Linked DNA regions of Homo sapiens: region 1 is linked to region 2. The links are contacts of gene promoters, found by promoter capture Hi-C in human tissues and cell types (Jung and others, 2019). All regions are on one chromosome and are shown on one strand. Each heading gives the region's core, a stretch centred on a gene start or on the middle of the fragment in contact. The rest is flanking DNA. Distances are from core to core; before and after follow the strand shown. Region 1 overlaps RDH8 (retinol dehydrogenase 8). Region 2 holds the start of MRPL4 (mitochondrial ribosomal protein L4).

Region 1 (2,700 bases), core at 17-2,516, 240 kb before region 2:
GTCTCTACTAAAAATACAAAAAATTAGCCAGGCGTGGTGGTGGATGCCTGTAGTCCCAGCTATTCGGGAGGCTGAGGCAGAAGAATGGCGTGAACCTGTGGGGTGGAGCTTGCAGTGAGTCGAGATCATGCCACTGCACTCCAGCCTAAGCGACAGAGCATGACTCTGTCTCAATAAATAAATAAATAAATATACAAAAATTAGCCAGGCATGGTGGCAGTGCCTATAATCCCAGCTACTTGAGAGGCTAAGGCAGGAGAATTGCTTGAACCGGGAGACAGAGGTTGCAGTGAGCTGAGATTTCACCACTGTATTCCAGCCTGGGCACCAAGAGCGAGACTCCGTCTCAAAAAAAAAAAAAAGGGCATAAAAGCTTGGCCAGGTGCTGTGGCTCTCTGGCTCCTCACGCCTGTAATCCCAGCACTTTGGGAGGATGAGGTGGGCAGATCACCTGAGGTTCGAGACCAGGCTGACCAATATGGTGAAACCCCGTCTCTACTAAAAATACAAAAGATTAGCCAGGTGTGGTGGCAGGCACCTGTACCCCTGTAATCCCAGCTACTCGGGAGGCTGAGGCAGGGGAATTGCTTGAACCCAGGAGGTGGAGGTTGCAGTGAGCCGAGATTGCACCCCTGTACTCCAGACTGGGCAACAAACAAGAGTGAAACTTCGTCTCAAAAAAAAAATATATATATATATATGGCTATTCACTTCAGTGTTCATATATGCACATATGTTGGCTATAGTTGTGTATGCATTTTTTTCATGGCAATCTGTTTTATGTTTATATATTTTATTGTCTTACCTACTAGGCTATAAATTCCATGAAGGCAGAAACTTTATCTTATTTATTTATTTATTTATTTATTTATTTATTTATTTATTTTGAGACAGTCTCGCTCTGTTGCCAGGCTGGAGTGCAGTGGCGCTATCTCGGCTCACTGCAAGCTCCGCCTCCCGGGTTCACGCCATTCTCCTGCCTCAGCCTCCCAAGTAGCTGGGACTACAGGCGCCTGCCACCACGCCAGGCTAATTTTTTTTTTTTTTTGTATTTTTAGTAGAGACGGGGTTTCACCATGTTAGCCAGGATGGTCTCGATCTCCTGACCTCGTGATCTGCCCACCTCGGCCTCCCAAAGTGCTGGGATTACAGGCGTGAGCCACCGCGCCAGGCCGCCCGGCCTTATTTTTTATTTTTTGAGACAGGGTCTCACTCTCTCACCCAGACGGTAGTGCAGTGGCTCCATCTCGGCTCACTGCAGCCTCAACCTCCTGGGCTCAAGCAATCCTCCCACCACAGCCTCCCAAGTAGCCAGGACTACAGGTGGGGGCCACCCACCACACCTGGCAAATTTGTAAAATATAATTTTTTTGTAGAGATGGGATCTCGCTATACTTCCCAGGCTGGTCTCAAACTCCTGGGGTCAAGCAATCCTCCCACCTCAGCTTCCCAACGTGCTGGGATTACAGGCTTGAGCCACCACACCTGGTGACTTTATCTTATTTCATGCCATAGCCTCAGCACCTAGAATAGGGCATAGTGTATAGTAGATGCTCAATAAATGTCTGTTGAACTCATGGTTGGAAGGATGGATATAGGTACGTGGAGATGCGTGTACACAAGTGTGCACTTGTTGGCTGAGTGATAAATGTAGGTGTGTAAACTTGTGAGTTTCCATCTCTCTGTGACTTGTAACGCAAGATCACAGACACGTGGCGCCCACACCAAGGGGAAAGGAGCTCAGTGCCTGTCCCTGCTTTACTCTCTGCCCCGCAGTCGTGGCCACCATGAGGGACCTGGGGAAGAAGGAGACACTGGAGGCAGCTGCTGGGGAGGCTCTGGGGCAGACCCTCACCGTGGCCCAGCTGGACGTGTGCAGTGATGAGTCGGTGGCCCAGTGTCTCAGCTGTATCCAGGGAGAAGTGGACGTGCTGGGTGAGACTTCACAGCCCCTGATTCACTAAGCCCCATCCTGGTCTGAGTATAGACCCTCAATATGGCAAGGTCTGAGCACCAGCTCTCTGGCTTCTTCAGCAATCTCTGAACCTGGGCAGAAGGGGTAGACCAGTTGGCCAAGAGGGGTAGACCAGTTGGTCCTACCAATTGATTTATTAAGGGCTGGGTGCAGTGGCTCATACCTGTAATCCTAGCACTTTGGGAGGCCGAGACAGGAGGATTGACCAGCCTCAGCAAAATAGTGAGACTCTGACTCTACAAAAAAATTAAAAATTAGCCAGTCATAGTGGTGCATGCCTAATCCCAGCTACTCGGGAGGCCAAGGTGGGAGGATCCCTTGAGCCCAGGAGTTTGAGGCTGCAGTGAGTTATGACAGAGCCAGTCTGGGGAGACAGAGTAAGACCTTGTCTCAAAAATAATTTTTTTTTTGAGACGGAGTCTTGCTCTGCGCCCAGGCTGGAGTGCAGTGGCGTGATCTCGGCTCACTGCAACCTCCACCTCCCAGGTTCAAGCAATTCTCCTGCCTCGCCTCCTGAGTAGCTGGGATTACAGGTGCCTGCCACCATGCCCAGCTAATTTTTGTATTTTTCTTAGAGACGAGGTTTCACCGTGTTGGTCAGGCTGGTCTCAAACTCCTGACCTCAAGTGATCCGCCCACCTCGACCTCCCAGAGTGCTGGAATTACAGGCATGCACCACCACACCTGGCCAAAAATCAATTTTTTTTGAGATGGAATTTCACTCT
Region 2 (2,700 bases), core at 190-2,689:
CTACTCGGTAAGCTGAGGCAGGGAATCGCTTGAACCCGGGAGGCCGAGATGTGCGATCTCACACCACTGCACTCCGGCCTGGGCGACAGAGCGATACTCCATCTCAAAATACAAATACAAAATAAAAAAATACAATACAAAAATGAGCCGGGCTTGCGTACCTGTAGACCAGCTACTCAGGAGACAGAGGCAGGAGAATCCCTTGAGCTCTGGAGGTCGAGGCTGCAGTAAGCCATGATCTTGCCCATTGCACTCCAGCCTGGGCGACAGAGGAAGACCTTGTCTCTAAAAACCAAAACAAAGAAACTAAAAATAAGCATTCGGATTTGTTAGGGGGCGACAAGGGAGGCACTCCAGGATCTGTGGACTCCCCACTTTGTTCTGTCCTTGGAGAGCCCTGGAAGGTCTGAGAGGGGACGGGACCTGGTTTAAGGGGGTAGGGGAGAGGACCCTGGTCTAGGGGGTAAGGGACACAAATACCTAATCTGAGGGGTTTCGGGGGGACATGGCCCTGCCCTGGGGAATCTAAACTGGGAGGCATGGTCTGGCAGGCCCAATCCTGAAGGCTTTCTGAGGGCAATAAGGCCCTGCCTTTAAACAAATGAAAAAACGCCAGGCACGGTGGCTCACGCCTGTAATCCCAGCACTTTGGAAGGCTGAGGCGGGAGGATCACGAGGTCAGGAGATCGAGACCATCCTGGCTAACGCGGTGATACCCGTCTCTACTAAAAATACAAAAAATTAGCCAGGCGTGGTGGCGGGCGCCTGCAGTCCCAGCTACTCGGGAGGCTGAGGCAGGAGAATGGCGTGAACCCAGGAGGCGGAGCTTGCAGTGAGCCGAGATCGCGCCACTGCACTCCAGCCTGGGCAACAGAGCAAGACTCCGTCTCAAAAAAAACAAAAACAAAAACAAAAACAAAAACAAAAAAACAAATAAAAAAACAAAACCACATAACTGGATAAAGAAAAAACCATCTCCGACAGCCTTGGAGGCGGGATGAAGGCGTGGCCCGGTGGGCGTGACCAACAGCAAAAGTTTAAGCGTTATTGGCTGTATTCCTTAGTTGCTCACTCCAGAACTGCCCACTTATGGGCGGGGGTCACTCCTTCAGGCTTAACAGTCATTGGCTGAATTGGGCCAGAGAGGTCTCATTGGCTGAATTCCTGCACCGGCTCGTCGGAGGCGGGACCCAAAGTAGGCTAGGCCTACGGAAGCTGGGTCTTCTTGCTGTGAGGTCGCGTTCCCCAGTGTTACGGAGGGTCCTTGAGGCAGGAGTGAAAATTGGGTCTGGGGGTTAGTCCTGGGGTGGAGGTCTGGGCACGCCGGGTCGGACCCCCTCCATCTTCGGTTTTGCACACCCCGCTTTCCAGCGCGGAGTCGCGGCGGGTAGGGCGGCGTCGCGTGCGTGACGTCATCCAGCGGCGCCTCGCGAGGCTCCAGTGGCCTTGACCTCCCGCGGCGTGGGAGGCTGCGCGGCGATGCTGCAGTTCGTCCGGGCCGGGGCGCGGGCCTGGCTTCGGCCTACCGGCAGCCAGGTGAGGCCAGGGGCTGGAGGCGTGGTCGAAGGATGAAATTTGGGGGTGTCCAGGGGTCGTCTCTCACTTTCGCCCAACCCTTGCAGGGCCTGAGTTCCCTGGCGGAAGAGGCAGCGCGTGCGACCGAGAACCCGGAGCAGGTGGCGAGCGAGGGTAAGGCAACCGGGGTGGCTCCAGGAGGGGCGGCGACAGAGAGGTCTGACCCTTGACCCTAACCTCTGACCCCCGCAATCGCTCCAGGTCTCCCGGAGCCCGTGCTGCGCAAAGTCGAGCTCCCGGTACCCACTCATCGACGCCCAGTGCAGGCCTGGGTCGAGTCCTTGCGGGGCTTCGAGCAGGAGCGCGTGGGCCTGGCCGACCTGCACCCCGATGTTTTCGCCACCGCGCCCAGGTGAGCGAGGGCTGTAATGGTGAACTGAGTGGCAGAGGGATGAAGAGCGGGATTTCAGGAGTCACGATGACTTTGGGCTTGTACCCTTGGGAAAGTGCTGTATTTCTACAGCCTCCGTTTCTCCACCTGTCAAAGGGGAATGATGACAGTTTCCCCTGCTGTAGCGCTGTGTGAGATTGAAGCCTGAGAGGTGACATCATCTAAGGGTTAGGGAGACAGAATTCTGGAGCCCGACTGATTAGGTTCAAATCCTGCCTTCCCCTCTTGTCCCTCAGTGTCCCTATTTTGTCAGCGGTCGGGAGGTTGCTGTGATGAATAAATGACTTAATTCTGGCACATAATAAGTTCTATAGAAATGTTGATAATCTTTGTTAACTGGTTTTTGCAAATAAGAGCACTAAAAAGACTAAACCATTCCTCGGTGCCTGGAAGAGGCTGTTTGCATTTTAGTTACCCTGCTGTTCATAACATCTCTAAGAAAATGTAGGGGCCACCCTGGGCGCAGTGGCTCACGCCTGTAATCCCAGCACTTTGGGAGGCCAAGGCGGGCGGATCACGAGGTCAGGAGATCGAGACCATCCTGGCTAACATGGTGAAACCCCGTCTCTACTAAAAATACAAAAAAAAATTAGCCGGGCGTGGTGGCGGGCGTCTGTAGTCCCAGGTACTCTGGAGGCTGAGGCAAGAGAATGGCGTGAACCCGGGAGGCGGAGCTTGCAGTGAGCCGAGATCGCGCCACTGCACTCCATCCTGGGCAACACTCTGTCTCAAAA

What was found. Contacts are between HindIII fragments. The study calls those that stand out against the background at their distance.
Region 1: a fragment that was not itself captured here is called in contact with the fragment with the promoter of MRPL4 in region 2 in 1 of the 25 tissues and cell types used here (hippocampus).

Annotation. Positions count from the first base shown.
Region 1 is chr19:10,015,281-10,017,980 of GRCh38, forward strand. RDH8 (retinol dehydrogenase 8) reads left to right here. Exons shown (of 6, transcript NM_015725.4): 2 at 1,777-1,935. Among named protein-coding and RNA genes, the nearest start is that of RDH8, 3.1 kb to the left of the region's middle. RefSeq lists an enhancer at 2,482-2,700. The HindIII fragment of the contact is 3,864 bases long and covers 1-2,700 here.
Region 2 is chr19:10,250,775-10,253,474 of GRCh38, forward strand. It overlaps MRPL4 (mitochondrial ribosomal protein L4), which reads left to right and starts at 1,440. Exons shown (of 9, transcript NM_015956.3): 1 at 1,440-1,536; 2 at 1,623-1,689; 3 at 1,777-1,927. The coding sequence starts at 1,480. RefSeq lists enhancers at 795-1,368, 823-972, 1,103-1,512, 1,369-1,942. The HindIII fragment of the contact is 13,002 bases long and covers 1-2,700 here.